6 separate regions of the Homo sapiens genome follow, and all the other regions are linked to region 1. The links are contacts of gene promoters, found by promoter capture Hi-C in blood cells and fetal thymus (Javierre and others, 2016). All regions are on one chromosome and are shown on one strand. The core of a region is centred on a gene start or on the middle of the fragment in contact, and the rest is flanking DNA. Distances in the headings are between cores, read along the strand shown. Region 1 holds the start of IPO8 (importin 8). Region 2 overlaps LOC729291 (a long non-coding RNA gene). Region 3 holds the start of KLHL42 (kelch like family member 42). Region 4 overlaps DNM1L (dynamin 1 like). Region 5 overlaps MRPS35 (mitochondrial ribosomal protein S35). Region 6 has its middle 5.9 kb from the start of YARS2.

Evidence for each region. The method cuts DNA at HindIII sites, captures the fragments that hold promoters and counts their contacts. A CHiCAGO score of 5 or more calls a contact.
Region 2: a fragment that was not itself captured here is called in contact with the fragment with the promoter of IPO8 in region 1 in 1 of 17 cell types (naive B cells); the score reaches 5.0 in naive B cells.
Region 3: the fragment with the promoter of KLHL42 here is called in contact with the fragment with the promoter of IPO8 in region 1 in 2 of 17 cell types (M0 macrophages and M1 macrophages); the score reaches 7.1 in M0 macrophages.
Region 4: a fragment that was not itself captured here is called in contact with the fragment with the promoter of IPO8 in region 1 in 2 of 17 cell types (activated CD4 T cells and total B cells); the score reaches 5.1 in activated CD4 T cells.
Region 5: a contact is called between a fragment that was not itself captured here and the fragment with the promoter of IPO8 in region 1, in 2 of 17 cell types (total B cells and naive B cells). The highest score is 6.2, in total B cells.
Region 6: a fragment that was not itself captured here is called in contact with the fragment with the promoter of IPO8 in region 1 in 1 of 17 cell types (total B cells); the score reaches 6.0 in total B cells.

What each region holds. Positions count from the first base shown.
Region 1 is chr12:30,694,530-30,697,229 of GRCh38, forward strand. It overlaps IPO8 (importin 8), which reads right to left and starts at 1,340. Exons shown (of 25, transcript NM_006390.4): 1 at 1,035-1,340. The coding sequence starts at 1,118. RefSeq lists a silencer at 1,090-1,139 and an enhancer at 1,230-1,729. The HindIII fragment of the contact is 4,530 bases long and covers 1-2,700 here.
Region 2 is chr12:28,186,510-28,189,209 of GRCh38, forward strand. It overlaps LOC729291 (a long non-coding RNA gene), which reads right to left. Exons shown (of 1, transcript NR_148936.1): 1 at 1-2,700. Among named protein-coding and RNA genes, the nearest start is that of CCDC91, 2.6 kb to the right of the region's middle. The HindIII fragment of the contact is 3,286 bases long and covers 1-2,700 here.
Region 3 is chr12:27,778,878-27,781,577 of GRCh38, forward strand. It overlaps KLHL42 (kelch like family member 42), which reads left to right and starts at 1,356. Exons shown (of 3, transcript NM_020782.2): 1 at 1,356-2,325. The coding sequence starts at 1,454. MANSC4 (MANSC domain containing 4) reads right to left here and starts at 1,359. Exons shown (of 4, transcript NM_001146221.5): 1 at 1,333-1,359. RefSeq lists silencers at 958-1,177, 1,198-1,507 and an enhancer at 1,373-1,872. The HindIII fragment of the contact is 8,648 bases long and covers 1-2,700 here.
Region 4 is chr12:32,741,406-32,744,105 of GRCh38, forward strand. DNM1L (dynamin 1 like) reads left to right here. Exons shown (of 20, transcript NM_012062.5): 19 at 1,184-1,343; 20 at 1,949-2,700. The coding sequence ends at 2,005. Among named protein-coding and RNA genes, the nearest start is that of YARS2, 13 kb to the right of the region's middle. The HindIII fragment of the contact is 8,280 bases long and covers 1-2,700 here.
Region 5 is chr12:27,713,176-27,715,875 of GRCh38, forward strand. It overlaps MRPS35 (mitochondrial ribosomal protein S35), which reads left to right. Exons shown (of 8, transcript NM_021821.4): 2 at 1,605-1,645. Among named protein-coding and RNA genes, the nearest start is that of MRPS35, 3.7 kb to the left of the region's middle. The HindIII fragment of the contact is 6,666 bases long and covers 1-2,700 here.
Region 6 is chr12:32,760,467-32,763,166 of GRCh38, forward strand. No RefSeq gene overlaps it. Among named protein-coding and RNA genes, the nearest start is that of YARS2, 5.9 kb to the left of the region's middle. The HindIII fragment of the contact is 1,074 bases long and covers 832-1,905 here.

The DNA.
Region 1 (2,700 bases), core at 90-2,589:
TTCGGGAGGCACAGAATCACCTGGGGGAGCTAGTTAAAATACAACTGGTCCCACCCCCACAGTTTCTGATTCGTTAAGTCTGGACTGAAGCCCCGTAATTTGCATAATTTGTAAGTTCTCAGGTGATGCTGAAGCTCCAGGTCCTGGGCAACGCTTTGAGAACAGCTGATTTTGGAATATTTACATTTTACAAGTCATCACAACCTAAAACAGCTGTTGCTCCATCCCAGTGGTAGCTCTTAATCCCTACTTTTTAGTAAGAGGTCTGTGATTCTTAAGTACCGGTAGGGAAGAAGAAATAAGCTGGAGTTTGGGATCATTAAAATTTTGAAGTGTGGGGGTAACGCTGGAAAGACGTCAAGGCTAATTAGGAAGAACAGGAGACGGAGAAAAGAAAGAAGTCTTACACATTTTAGCATTCATAAGAAATTTCTCCAACACATCTTACTTTGATGTGTCTTAGATAAAGCAGTATCACCATGAAAACTGCCTATTCTTCCCAGAGCACTCTCCCAACAGCACTGCCCAGCGCTCCGCAAAACTCGGCCAATCGGTGTCAAAACAGTCCTGCCAACCCGACAGGAGGAGGCGGTGGGCAGCGTGCTCCACAGCAACACCTAAAAAGGGCTGGGTTTGGAAAAAAGCTGAACTCAGATTTGAACTGTAAGTAAAATTCCCACCTGCTCCCCAAGTCCGCGCACTTAAGGAAAATAAATCACACCCTGAAAACACTAGCACAGGTTGCAAAAACTGCTTCTTGCGGACCAAGTAGGCAGAACAAACTGCCCTGGAGAAGGGAGACGACACGAAAAGGTGCAAAGGTGGCCAACAGGTGCGCGAGCTGTTCGGCAAAGATCCTGGGAGCCCTGCTCCACTGGACCGGGGGGCAGCGGGGTCGGAGAGCGGGACCAGCCGTGAGGCGTCAGCCCCAGCCCGGTGGGGGTGAGGACGAGGGGCGCCGGGGAGAGGGAGCCCGGCCAGCCGGCAGGGGCGCCCCTTCGGCGGAAGAGGGTCGCCGAAGACCCTCTCCTCACCTGGTTGAGCTCGTTCTCGGCTGCAATCCGCAACTTCGGGTCGATGGTGCCCTTCAGCGCCTGGATGATCCGGTTGAGGTCCATCTCCCCGGGTGGGGGCTCCGCGGCCCCCGGAACAGTAGGCCGGACTGCAGCTTTAGTTTTCTTTTGACCCTCTCAGCCTCCTCTTCCGCGACCCCTGGATTACCTCACACCCCACCCCCCGCCACCGTCGCCACCTGCGGCCACTTGCTGCGCCACTCTGACTCCGCGCCCCCTGTCCTCCCTTTTTCCCCCCCACAACTCGCTCTCCATTCACCGTTTTACGACAGCCGGTGGGAGGCGGGAGAAGGAAGAAGAGGAAGCAGAGCTTCCTTTACGGCGGCCTCTTCCCCCGGGCGTGATGCTATGACCGCCTCCCGTCGGCGGCCGCCATGCTGCTGTACGGAAAACGGCCTAGGCTTCTTTCCCGGAAAGGAACCCGCGCTCCCGAACTCAGGCAGGCGGCCGCTATGCTTCCGTACGGTAAACAGCCTCCCGCCTCTTCCCAGGTGAGGAAACTTGAGCTGGCCGGGAGTCTGCTTACAGCTGCTTCCAAATTAAGCATATCTGGATGGTGTGACACTTTTTGTTAGTCCGAGAACTGTATGGGCATCGCAACTGGGCCTGTTCCAAGATAGACTTGTTGGGACCTTCAAATCATGTACCTTACAGGAGGACAGGGTTCCTCCGTGTGTGGGAGTCATCGTTCATTCATTCATTCGCTTTCACTGAACATTTGTTAAACATATATTTTTGAACCAGAGTACTAGGATTTTTAGGTACCACATTATAACAAGATGAATTCCATGCAAGTTAATGTGAAGGAATTCACAACCTGATAGATGAGACAAATATAAACAAAAAAAATTTACAGTGTAGAAATGATAGGGGAGTGCTGGGAAGGGAAGAGCGTGGTCCCTTTAAATGATAGGGATGGGCGAAGTGAAGTGCTGGGTAGAGGAGTGTGTGGTCCCTTGCTAGGGCTCCACGCCCACCGACCTAGGTGAGGACTGACACTCCTGCCTTCCAGCCCAAATGTTGCATTTCCCAAGACCACCCTGGCCTGCCACTCCCCCATACTGTGCCTATGAAAACCCCAGACCCTAGCAGGCAGGTACACAGGCAGCCAGACGTCCAGAGGAGCATAAGGGTGGAAGAAGAGGAGCTCGCTGGCACATCCGCAGGCCATTCACGGGCAGAACGATGCGGAGGTTGGCCTGGGCAGTCGGAAAAGAGCCCGGGCCGCCAAGCGGCCTAACTCCAGAGGAAAACCATTTCCCTTCTGGGTCCCTCATCTGCTGAGGGCTACTTCCACTCAATAAAACTTTGCACTCATTCTCCAAGCCCACGTGTGATCCAATTCTTCTGGTACACCAAGGCAAGAACCCAGGATACAGAAAGCTCGCTGTCTGTGCGACAAGGTAGAGGGTCTAATTGAGCTGGTTAACACAAGCCCCCTAAAGGCAAACTGAAAGAGCATCCTGTAACACACACCCACTGGGGCTTCAGGAGCTGTAAACATTCACCCCCAGACTCTGTCAAGGGGTCGGAGCCCCACAGCCTGCCGGTCTGTATGCTTCTCTAGAGGTCTGAGCAGCGGGGCACTGAAGAAGCGAGCCACACCCCCAATGCACGCCCTGTGAGG
Region 2 (2,700 bases), core at 109-2,608, 2.5 Mb before region 1:
CAAAGTTTGGGTGAGGGTTCATCTCATTTCTGTGGGTGACTGCAACAGCACATAAACTTCAATGGCAGTTTAAATTCCTGCAACCTATCTGCTGTGGTCTGAATGTTTTTGTCCCCCCACAATTCATATGTTAAACTTAATCACCAATGAGATAGCGTTAGGAGGTGGGGCCTTTGGGAGGTGATTAAATCATGAGGACACAAGCCTCATGACTAGGATTACTGCCCTTATAAAAGAGGCTCCAGAGAGCCGCCCTGTCTCTTCCACCACATGAGGACACAGCTAGAAGGCACAATCTATGACCCAGAAAGCAGGGCCCCACTAGACATCCAATCTGCTGGTGTCTTAATCTTGAACTTCTTAGACTCCAGACCTGTGAGAAATAAATTTGCATTCATAAGCTACCCAGTATTTTTCTATAGCAGCCTGAACAAACTAAGATACCATCATTGTAGTGTTTCATTATTCTTATCACCAAGTGCCCAATCTTCCTCTTGATGACTACAGCCAGAAACCTGGAATATATCTTCAATTCTTTCTTCTTCTTCTTACTCCTCCTTTTTTTTTTTTTTTTGAAAGGGTCTTGCTCTGTCATCCAGCTGGAATGCAGTGGCACAATCACAGCTCACTGCAGCCTCCACCTCCCAGGCTCCAGTGATCCTCCTACCTCAGCCTCCCACATTGCTGGGGTTACACGTATAAGCCACCGTGACTGGCTTCTTTCCTCCTTTTTTGTTGGCCATGTGCCTTTAAAATCCTTTCTGCCAATTTCATGGGTACCATCTCGGCTCAGGCAGTCATTAATTCCTCATTTTAGTTATTTTATGTCTTCTATCTGGTTTGTTTGTTTTTCTAGTCTTGGCCCCGTCTCTCCTACCCAATAATCCTTCCTCTATACTGCTGCTGAAGTAATTCTTCTCCAACCTTGCTTAACTAATTCAGCAATTTCCCATTACCTTCAGGATACAGTTCAAACTCCTTAACACAGTTTACAAAACTCTTCATCATCTTACATCTACATTTCCCATTTCTCCTGCTGCATACCTGCATACCACAATGTTTGCTTCTATGGTATGCTTACCTGCAAAATATACTTACCTCCACAGTTCATAGACAAGGAAATATATACAAAGGTATATGTTCCTTTTTCTGGAGCATACTCATGTCTTTCCTTAGCTTGGTCAATTCCAATAGATTCTTCAGGACTAATCCTGAGCTTTGATACATTCTATGAGAAGTACTTCCTGTTTAACCTAGGCTGAGTGAGGTGTTCTTTCTCCACCTTTTAGCAATAACCTTTATTTCAGTGTTTATTATCACTGTAATATCTGATTTGATTGTATATTTTTCTAGATGTGATTCTCTTAAGGGCAGGCACCATGTTTTTCATCTCAGAAGGTCACAAACTATTAGGAAAATGGGCTTGCAGATACATGTACAACAAAGAATAATAATTGAAGATGGCTCATGGAAAAAGTATTCTGAAAAGTAAGAGAGGCACATGTTCTAGAGAGACAAGAAAAGGCACAATAGAGAAATTAGAGCCCTCATACATTGCTGGTGAGAAAGTAAAATGGTACAGCCACTTTGGAAAACAGTGTGGTAGTTCCACAAGGGGTTAAACATAGAGTTACCATATGACCCCGCAATTCCACTCTTAGGTATATATCCAAGAGAAATGAGAACATATGTTGACACGAAAACTTGTACATGAATGTCAACAGGAGCATTATTCATAATATTCAAAAAGCTGAAACAACCCAACCGATGAAGGGACTTTGAAAACATGTTAAGTGAAAGAAGCCAGTCACAAAAGACCACACATTGCATGATTCCATTTATATGAAATGTTCAAGATAGACAAATGCATACAGACGGAAAGTGGATTACTGGTTGCCTAGGGCTGGGGAGAGGAGGGAGAAGTTGGGGCCAAAGGGTATGGGGTTTCTTTTTGGGGCTGTGAAAATACTCTAAAATCGAATGTGGTAAAGCATGCATAACTCTGTGAATATACTAAAATCACTGAATTGTTTATAAAGAAAAAGATTACTGTGGGGAAGGAAGAAAGATTTCATGGAGTTGGTAGGATTTGAATTCACTGATAAATAAGTGATATAAAAAGCAAAGTGATGTGCTATAGTGAATAAACAAGCCCTTCTGTTGGGCAGATCTGGCTTTAAATCCACTTGGTCAATTTACACTTCCTAAATCTGTAACCTCATCTAAAGTGTAAATATATTAATATACCTACTTTGTAAAATTATTGTGGTAAGTTATATATGGGATTTAAAATATTTAATCTAATGCCAGGCACATAGCAAATATTAATAATAAATATTAGTTACTTATTATAAATCTGTTTAGTATGGAATACAGTTTAGTATTGAATATCGGGACAGAGTGAACATGTAAGTACATCAATGGGAAGGAACTCCCAGAAACTAATCTGGTTTCCAGCAGAAAGAGATATGAGAGACAAAATAATATAAAGGTAACCTTACTAAGTTTAAGAAATATTTATGAATACCTTTTTTCTAACTACTAGACACTTTGCTAGACTGCTGGATACACAAAGACAAATGAGAAGTGAGTAGATTGCTGGATATACAAGTGAGAAGTGGTCCTTGACTTGGTAGTCTAGTAGACAGATAAAAAAATATGTGTAAGAAAGCATTACATTTCTTACAATAGAAATGTTTT
Region 3 (2,700 bases), core at 106-2,605, 2.9 Mb before region 1:
CTCTTTTCCGAGACGGCGTCTCGCTCTGTCGCCCAGGCTGGAGTGCAGTGGCGCGATCTCGGCTCACTGCAACCTCCGCCTCCCGGGTTCCAGCAATTCTCCTGCCTCAGCCTCCCGAGTAGCTGGGATCACAGGCGCGTGCCACCACGCCCGGCTAATTTTTGTATTTTTAGTAGAGACGGGGTTTCACCATGTTGGCCATGGTGCTCTCGAACTCCTGACCTCGTGATCTGCCCACCTGGGCTTCCCAAAGTCATGGGATTACAGGCGTGAGCCACCGCGCTCAGCCAAACCGCACGTGTGGTCTCTCTTAATAGTCCTCAGATGATGGGGGCAGGGTAGGTGGAGAAAGGGGGTGACAAGAAAAGCTACTTCTTGCAGACATTTATGAGCCAATTTTGTCAGATCTTTTGCGCCAGGATAACATTCCGTAATGGACTGGACTGAAGTAGAAAAGCAATGGCTCATAGAAAACATGGTTTAAAACCAGAAGCCACGTGATGTAACTTTATTTAGTCGGGCTGCGCTTTCATCTTTCTTTTAATAACTTAGGGAGAATAAGGGGCCCCAGTGGCAAATGCAAGCTCCCCTGCCTCCCAACCCGATTCCTCTGAGAACCTGCTGCCATCTGCCTGGACCTCCTGTAAGATGGCTCCTACGCGACCACGCTACCAGAGAATCAGCTCTACGTGCCACCAACATTGCCACCAACTGTCCATAGATCGCCTGCGTGCCTCAGCCCACTGACACTCGATGCCGGACTGGGCCAGAAGGACGACCCCATATTTGATGCCTTTTTGTCTCCCTGGACCAGAGACTCCATCCTTCCCTTTCCTCCCACGCTCATTTCTTTTTCTTTAGCCCGTGTAAAGCAGCGTGGGAGAGAAAACGAATTTCTTCTCCCTGGGGTACCCCGGAGCATCACTGCAGCCCCCAACAAGCGGCGGAGCCGGCGCGCCCCGGGCGGGCGGAGAGGCTGCGGGGACGCGCGCCCTCCGCCTCCCGCAGCTGCGCGTCCGCAGCCGAGGCGCCCGGGCCCGCAGCTTCCCGGGCCTCCCCGAGAGCCGGATCCAGCCGGCAGGTCAGGCCGGCGGCTGGGGTCCCGCGGGCGGAAGTGAGAAGGGCGGCGGGGGAGGAGGCTGCTGGCTGGGAGCTGGAATTCCCTTCCCGCCTGGCGCCGCCCGGGAGAGCCCGCGCGAGGACGCCCGCCGCGCTCCGCCGGCCCTTTTTTGGCGCTGAGGGAAAGGAGAAGGGCAGGGCCGCCGCCTCGCGGGAGCGGGCCCCGGGAGGAGGGGCCGCCGGAGAGGCCGGGCGAGCGCGGGCGGCCCTCACCTCGCCGCTCCTCCCGGGCCGCCATCCCTCGGCGCCCCGCCCGGAACCGGCGCGCGCGTAGGGGCTGGGAGGCCGGCGCGCAGATCTGGCGGTGAGCGCTGCCGCCCCGGGGCCCCCAGCCATGTCGGCCGAGGAGATGGTGCAGATCCGCCTGGAGGACCGCTGCTACCCGGTGAGCAAGAGGAAGCTCATCGAGCAGAGCGACTACTTCCGCGCCCTCTACCGCTCCGGCATGCGCGAGGCCCTGAGCCAGGAGGCCGGCGGCCCGGAGGTGCAGCAGCTGCGCGGCCTCAGCGCGCCGGGCCTGCGGCTGGTGCTGGACTTCATCAACGCCGGCGGGGCCCGCGAAGGCTGGCTCCTGGGCCCGCGCGGGGAAAAGGGCGGCGGGGTGGACGAGGACGAGGAGATGGATGAGGTGAGCCTGCTGTCCGAGCTGGTGGAGGCGGCCTCCTTCCTGCAGGTCACGTCCCTGCTGCAGCTGCTGCTGTCCCAGGTGCGGCTCAATAACTGCCTGGAGATGTACCGCCTGGCGCAGGTGTACGGGCTGCCCGACCTGCAGGAGGCCTGCCTGCGCTTCATGGTCGTCCACTTCCACGAGGTGCTGTGCAAGCCCCAGTTCCACCTCCTGGGGTCTCCTCCCCAAGCTCCAGGGGATGTCAGCCTGAAGCAGAGGCTGAGGGAGGCCCGGATGACTGGGACTCCTGTCCTCGTGGCCCTCGGGGACTTCCTGGGGGGACCCCTGGCCCCTCACCCCTACCAGGGGGAGCCCCCGTCCATGCTCAGGTACGAGGAGATGACTGAGCGTTGGTTCCCGCTGGCCAACAACCTTCCTCCCGACCTGGTCAATGTCAGGGGCTATGGGTCTGCCATCCTGGACAACTACCTCTTCATAGTGGGCGGGTACAGGATCACTAGCCAGGAGATCTCCGCTGCGCATTCCTACAACCCCAGCACCAACGAGTGGCTCCAGGTGGCCTCCATGAACCAGAAGAGGTAAGCACCCCGGCAGAGTGCTGCTGCCTTCTCATTCATTCACTTGTTCATTAGTTCATTACCCCAGTGTTTACTGAGCCAGTAAATAGGGGAGGGTGTGCTGTGGTGGAAATGACATCTTCAGGAATGTTGTTGGCCTTGGCGCTGGCAAAATTCCCAATGAACTAAGAAATTGCGAAGAGGACGTCCCCAGTGAGGTCAAGAAGTGGAGTGGTTTTTTGGCAGGTATTGTGCCTTTAGGTGAAACTGCTTTCTTTGCCTCTGTTCTTGTGAAAAAAGATGTTGTGGTTTCCTACAAGAATACTTTAAAAGAAAATTGCCCCTTAATTTTTAAAAAATTTGTCTTAGTTTTTAGGATTTGATCCTGATGATAAT
Region 4 (2,700 bases), core at 198-2,697, 2.0 Mb after region 1:
CTCCTGAGTAGCTGGGATAACAGGTGTGCACCACCATGCCCAGCTAATTTTTGTATTTTTAGTAGAGACGGGTTTCACCATGTTGGCCAGGCTGGTCTCGAACTCCTGACGTCAGGTGATCTACCTGTCTTGGCCTCCCAAAGTGCTGGGATTATAGGCGTGAGCCACTGCACCCGGCTCACTTAATGTTTTTAAGCCTCATCCATACTGTAGTATGAATCAGTATAGTCACGCACCACATAACATTTTAGTCAACAGACCACGTATTTGAATGTGTTCCCGTTAGATTATGATACCATGTTTTTGCTGTACATTTCCTATGTTTAGATACACAAATACTATTGTGTTACAGTTCCCTATTCAGTACAGTAACATGCTGTACATGTTTGCAGCCTGGAGCAATAGGCTATCCCATATAGCTTAGGCGTGTCATAGGCTATACCATCTACGTTTGTGTAAGTACACTCTGTGCTGTGCATGTAATGAAATCACCTAATAATGCATTTCTCAAAGCATATCCGTGTCATTAAGTGACATATCTTTTGTGTGAATAATACTAGATTATGTAGATATACTGTGTTTAAGCATTCATCAGCTGATGTTTGGATTTTTCTCACTTCTTGGCTATTATGAATAAATGCTTATTGAAGAGTTTTGAAATAAAGATGATGAAAAGAAGGTAAAGTATCAAGAATTGTTGCTTTTGTTTTTTTTTTTGAGACACAGTCTCACTCTGTTGCCCAGGCTGGAGTGCAGTGGCGCGTTCTTGGCTCACTGCAATCTCCACCTCCTGGGTTCAAGTGATTCTCGTATCTCAGCCTCCCGAGTAGCTGGGATCACAGGCATGTGCCACCACACTCAGCTAATTTTTTATTTTTAGTGCAGACGGTGTTTCACCATGTTGGCCAGGCTGCTGTCAAACTCCTGGCCTCAAGCAGTCCACCCGCGTCAGCCTCCCAGAGTGCTGGGATTACAGGCATGAGCCACTGCGCCTGGCCGAGAACTGCTTTTCTTAATGTTTAATTACAGTTAAGCAAAAATCTAAAGGGCGATTATGCCATTAATGAAATATCCAAAGTAGTAGTGTTCTTACTTAACTTTATTTCATGAGGTTAGCATCTAAGCCCAAATTGTTAAAAGTAGAATTTTGGCTAAAATTCCATAATTTGGTTGTGTTTTGCAGTGTGCCAAAGGCAGTAATGCATTTTTTGGTTAATCATGTGAAAGACACTCTTCAGAGTGAGCTAGTAGGCCAGCTGTATAAATCATCCTTATTGGATGATCTTCTGACAGAATCTGAGGACATGGCACAGCGCAGGAAAGAAGCAGCTGATATGCTAAAGGTATTGTGGACCTTTTGATTTTTTATACTTGGGTAGTAGATAGAAACATAGAAATAGTTTTAAATGCAGTTTGATTCTTGGATATGTATAGTCTTTATATTCTAGCTAGGCTTGTTTCCTGTTGGTACTTGATAAGAATCTTTTTTTTTTTTTTTTTTTTTTTTTGAGTGGGAGTCTGGCTCTGTCGCCCAGGCTGGAGTGCAGTGGCACAATCTCGGCTCACTGCAAGCGCCGCCTCCCAGGTTCACGCCATTCTCCTGCCTCAGCCTCCCGAGTAGCTGGGACTACAGGCGCCCACCACCACACCCAGCTAATTTTTTGTATTTTTAGTAGAGACGGGGTTTCACCATGTTAGCCAGGATAGTCTCTAACTCCTGACCTCATGATCCGCCCGCCTCGACCTCCCAAAGTGCTGGGATTACAGGCATGAGCCACTGCGCCTGGCCGGTACTTGATTAGATTCTAATTCCAGAGAAGATATTGGTTAGTATAAACTGGTTAGTTATAAACCTACCACATATATATTGGAAAAATTACCCTGCGTAATTCAGATTAATTTCATAACTTTATAATAAGCATTTAAAATTTTTTTTCCTTTAATGCAGGCATTACAAGGAGCCAGTCAAATTATTGCTGAAATCCGGGAGACTCATCTTTGGTGAAGAGAACTATGTAATACTGAGACTTTGTTGACTCAAAACTTGCTAGTTACTGCCTACCTGAGTAGAATCTTATTTATGAACTCCTGTGTATTGCAATGGTATGAATCTGCTCATGTGGAGACTGGCTATAAACTGAAAAGTGTATTCCAAATTGCAGAACACATCACACATTTAATCCAAATAATAAATGGCTGTTTCTAAAGTTTCCCAGTATATATAAAATACATCAAGTCTGTCTTGTGACAGTTTCATCTGAACTTAACTTAAAAACAACTGTTAATGTTCTAGTTGTGCAAAGCAGTTTGCCTGTGGATAAGATGACCTGTGTAATAATCTTTGTTAGTAGTCTTAAAGCTGCTGCCATAGTCCTCCAAGAAGAAAGCACCAAGACAACATTTCATATGACTATAATGCATGTACTATATAAGCTGATCTGGCTTTGAAAGATGTGAGTTGGCAAGTTCCTCACATAGAGTCATTGTATTCCACCTGTCCTTCAATTTAGTTTTTTCTGAGCTTCTTTGCAGCCTTTGATGTGTTTTTAAGAAAGCTGAATGCACAAGAGGATCTGTGACACTGACATGGCTGTGGTGTGCATACTGTGTAGTTACATAGCCCTTCCAATTCTGGGTCCATTTGCACTAGCAAATTAAAATATGCTTTGATTCATACTTAAACCTGAAAGCAGGAATGCC
Region 5 (2,700 bases), core at 96-2,595, 3.0 Mb before region 1:
CTTTTTCTCACCTGCTTGTCTTCATGGCTACGTCCTGCTCATCTTTCAGGTTTTAGCTTAAAGTTCACTTTCTCAGGGAGATTTTCCCCAACTGATTAGAGTTTTCCAGAGAGACAGAACGTAGATGTAGGATAGGATAGATGTAGATGTAGATATATAGACATATGATGGGATTTTTTAGGGGAATTGACTCACCCCACAATAGGCTGTCTGCAAGCTGGAAGCCCATGTCAGTCCAAGTTCAGAAACCTCAGAACCACAGAAGCCATGTAATTTTCAGGCCAAGGCTGAAGGCCTAAGAACTCAGGGGGCTGCGTGTACAAGTTCCTGGAGTCCAAAGGCTGGAGCACCTGGAGTTCTGATGTCCAAGGGCAGGGGAAGAGTGTCCCAGGTCCAGAAGAGAGAGAGAGAGAATATATTCTTCTTTCATCTGCCTTTTTGTTCTTTCTGTGCCCTCAGCTGATTGGATGATGCCCACCCACATTGAGAGCAGGTATTCCTCACTCAGTCCACTGACTCAAATGCCTGTCTCTCCTGGAAACATCCCCACAGACATGCCCAGAAATAATGCTTTACCACATGTCTATGTATTCCTCAATCCAGTCAAATTGACACAAAGTTAACTATCATGGCTGGGCACAGTGACTCACCCCTGTAATCCCAGCACTTTGGGAGGCTGAGGTGGGTGGATCGCTGGAGCTCAAGAGCTTGAGACCAGCCTGGCAACATGGCGAAACACCGTCTCTACAAGAATTAGCCGGGTGTGCTCATGTCTTTAGTCCTAGCTACTTGGGGTGCTGAGGTAGAAGGATTGGCTTGAACCTGGTAGTTCGAGGCTGCAGTAAGCCGAGATTGCACCACTGCAATCCAGCCTGGGCGAGAGTGAGATGACCTTGTCTCAAAAAAAAAAAAAAAAAAAGAAAGAAAGAGAAAAAAGAAAAAATTCACCGTCATACAAACTAATTGACTAGGTTTCGTTCCCTGCTATATGTGTTCATAATATTTATCACTGTTTATTGAAATTATTTGTTAAAAAGTTGTCTTACTTGACAGACTCTGTAAGAGTCATTTTTTAGATAATGAATTCACTGTATCTGCAATTCAAATAACTGTAGAATTTTCCTTACTGGGGCTAGGCACAGTGGCTCACACCTGCCCACCGCACTTTGGGAGACTGAGGCAGGCGGATCACTTCAGGTCAGCAGTTTGAGACCAGCCTGGCCAACATGGTGAAACTCTATCTCTACTAAAAATACAAAAATTAGCCAGGTGTGGTGGGGTGTACTGGTAGTCGCAGCTACTTGGGAGGCTGAGGCAGGAGAATCACTTGAACTCCGGAGGTAGAGGTTGCAGTGAGCCGAGATCACACCACTGCAATCCAATCTGGGTGATACGCCGAGACTCCCTCTGTTTCCAGTTTTTAGTCTTCATTAAGATGATTTTGGTCCCTGAGCTTACCAAAAAAAAAAAAAAAAAGATTGTTTCATTGTTATGTTACTAAATACCTTAAATTGTGTTAGAATAATGGGATCATGATTGATGTTGAACAACTAACTTGACATGATAAAATTCTCTTTAACTACTGTGTTATCTTTTACGTACAGCGGAAAGAACACCCGGAAATGAAAGGCCACCAAGAAGAAAGGTAAAAAGTTCGTATACTCTACTATCTTAATGGTTTCTGGAGTTCTAAAATGAGGCAGATATTCATTATAAGGCAGAAGGGTGTTACCAGAGAAGACTTCACAAGGTCATGTTTACTGGGTGATTGCCATAGCCCTGGCAGAGGTTAGTCTTTGTTTTTTGTCAGTACCCAGAGAATAGATGATCTTTGAGAGGTTGACTTACTGAGGAACTCCCAGGAAACAGGTGTATAAACCAGAATATGGAACAATTTCTAATGCTATCTTAAGTCCTGCAGCCTGGGACTTATGCATTAATATAACTAGTTTGTTTATTTATTTATTATTATTTATTTGAGATAGAGTTTCCCACTTGTTGCCCAGCTGGAGTGCAGTGGTGCAGTCTTGGCTCACTGGTACCTCTGCCTCCCGGGTTCAAGTGGTTCTCCTGCCTCAGCCTCCCAAGTAGCTGGGACTACAGGCACACACCTCCATGCCTGGCTAATTTTTTGTGTTTTTAGTAGAGAGAGGTTTTCACCATGTTGGTCAGGCTGGTCTTGAATTCCTGACCTCAGGTGATCCACCCGCCTCAGTGCTGGGATTACAGGCGTGAGCTACTGCACCTGGCCTCCCAAAGTGCTGGGATTACAGGCATGAGCCACGGCACCTGGCCGTATTCTAACTAGTTGAGTCTCACCCTGTGGACATTTGGATTCCTTACTTCTATGGAGGAATCTAAACGATAAGGTCAGTTGGTGAGCAATAGTGTCAGAACAAAGACACATTAGTTGGAAGTTAAATGGTATCAAATTACAATCATTAAGAGCAGTCATTTCCTCAGGACTATTACCTGCTTCTAGGATATTGACTACACTGGTTTTGATATTGCGTAGGCGGGGCATGGCTGAATTTTGCCACTATAAACCCTACTTTTGTATGTGGGCCATCCCCTCGTATTTGATGCCATTAAAAATAAATGTTAATGTGATTGACTAAGCTATCAAGTACTAGTTTTTCTCTGGGCCTAGGAGACATATAATTTTTCATTATATATTTATTCAATCAGTTTAACCCTAAT
Region 6 (2,700 bases), core at 119-2,618, 2.1 Mb after region 1:
AGCTAAGTGTCTTGAAACCTAGTCTGTGTCCCTTGATTGAAGTGGCTTTAATGCTTTTTGAGCTGATGGTCATATTAACATCCAAAAATTTTTTATAAGAGATTAGCTTATTTTAAGATGCTGATTGTAGGAGGATAATTAGACAAAGAAACATGTTACTAGATATGCATTTCCTTTCTATATTAGAGTTTAGAGAAGGATACCCCAAGTTTCTTTCTTTCTTTCTTTTAGGCTGCTGTTGTAGCCAGTGGAATAACCTGGAGGTCTCAGCATTGCCTTAACTTTATGCACCTGGTCCCATACCATATGGCTGGATAATGTTTTGAGATATTTATGGGTTTAAAAATCTTTCATTTTCCAGGCCGGGTGCGGTGGCTCACGCCTGTAATCCCAGCACTTTGGGAGGCCGAGGTGGGCAGATCACGAGGTCAGGAGTTCGAGACCAGCCTGGCCAACATAGTGAAAACCCGTCTCTTCCAAAAATACAAAAATTAGCCAGGTGTGGTGGCACACGCCTGTAGTCCCATCTACTCAGGAGGCTGAGGCGGGAGAGTCGCTTGAACCCGGAAGGCAGAGGTTGCAGTGAGCTGAGACCACGCCATTGCACTCCAGCCTGGGTGACAGAGTGAGACTCCGTCTCAAAAAAACAAAGAAATAAAAAATCTTTCATTTTCCTCTCTTCATTTTAACTGTCCATTTGTAGCAAGTTCTGTGTGTCAGTGCCTTGGGGAAAGTACAAGTCGGGGAGGAATACAGAGTCATCCTGGAACTCTTTGTAACTTTTGTTTCCAAAAGTCAAAAGCCTAAGATAGGATGAAGTTTAAGGAAATAAGCTTAGAGAAGAGAAAGAGGTAGGATTCTCCAGCTTAAAGAGAGTGCCCCTGCCCCAAACCTGGGCAAGGGAGCCCTGGCTATGGCCCTGGTTTGCCAGAGGAGCTGTGCATTGCTCCCTGGCCTCAAAGGGACGACCTCCTGCTACACTTCCAGCCTGGGGCTCCTGGCTTTGCCTAAGGTTCCTCTGCTTCATTTGAGGCAGGAGAGCCCCTGAGTGCCAGCTGGAGGTCTCAGAGAACCACTGAAGGCTTGGCCAACAAGGATGGCTAGAATGATCAGAACCAATTGGAAATTAGAGATATTATTTCCTGGGGCACGTTGATCAAATTTTGGTAAAACCCTAGAAGCGGGAAGGAGGCTAATAATGATGGAGAAACAATTTCCTACCATTCTAGTGGGTTAAGGACATAGATGTTTGCTTATTCATTTAACAGATATTTATTAGAATTATTTGATCAGTCAGGCACTGTTCTAATGGCTTAGGATATATTCATGGATGAAAGAAAGATTCCTGTCCTCATGGAGATAATATTATTCTATGAAGTTATTTTTCTCTGAGCAGTTTTATTCTTCACTTCCTCTTTCTTCATTTCCTCTTTCTGATTGGGCTCCTTTTCCACGCCCAATTTTTGGAGCAGAGAGAGAGTGACTCCTAGGTAGCTGTTGAAGAACATGCAGATTAGGAGGGGGCTGTGGGAGAGAAACATTTGTTGAGAATATGACCAAGGGAAAGACATCCCTTGTAGGAGGGTGGTGATTGAGGTGTAGAGTAGAATTCAAACAGCTTTTCCCCTTTCAATATGTAATTGTGTCTCCCTTCACTCCTGCTGCAGTGAATTTTTCTCCTCGCAGAACCCTTTCCCCAACATCCACCCCTTCTGCTCTGAGCTTGGTGATAGCCGCCGCAGTCCCCTACCAGCATGTTCTTTCCCAGGCCATGTTGTCGGGACTGTAATTCAGCCATGACTGGCAAGCAACGAATCCGCCTGGCTGTTTGCTAATGTGATGAGAAAAGCAGGCTTCCCTCTTAGAAAGAGGATCTTGGAGACACTATTGTGATTGCATCTGAAAAGCTTAGATCAAATGGATAATGTCTTCAGTGAAGATCATTTTGGAATTTTCCTATTTATCAAGTTACCTTAGTAATTTTCTGGTCTCTCTGACAGAGTAGAAGTGAATCAATCAACTCATCATTGTCCCTCCATCAAGGCCAAGTGAATTTATATCTCCATTGGAGAAGAAACAAAACAATAAGCAATCATTCTATGTTTTGTAGAGCAATTCTATTTTGATTAAAACTATTTTTGTCTTTTTTTCTCAGTGTCTTCAATACGGACTTTATGTTTTTCTGTTATAAGCACTGACTGGTTAGTTACCAAAATGAGAAATAAGTCTGGAAACATCTCACTCATTAATGTTCTGTAACATCATAAGGGGAACAAATACCTTGTATTTACATAATGTTTGCAGAAAAGTCAAATATTACTTCCTTCATCCTCACAACCATAACAAAATGTGCTTCTGAGTCGTGGTCCAAAGACCATGGGACTAGGAGTCACAGACATGAGTAGCTATCTCAGCTTAACCTTGACTACCTGTTCCTCCTTAGATAAGTCATTTAACACACTAGCCTTGGTGTCCTCATTTTAGAAGTAAATGGGCTGGGCTTGGCGCGGTGGCTCATGCCTGTAATCCCAGCATTTTGGGAGGCCGAGGCAGGCAAATCACGACGTGGTCAGGAGATCGAGACCATCCTGGCTAACACGGTGAAACCCTGTCTCTACTAACAATACAAAAAATTAGCCAGGCATGGTGGCCGGCACCTGTAGTCCCAGCTACTTGGGAGGCTGAGGCAGGAGAATCACT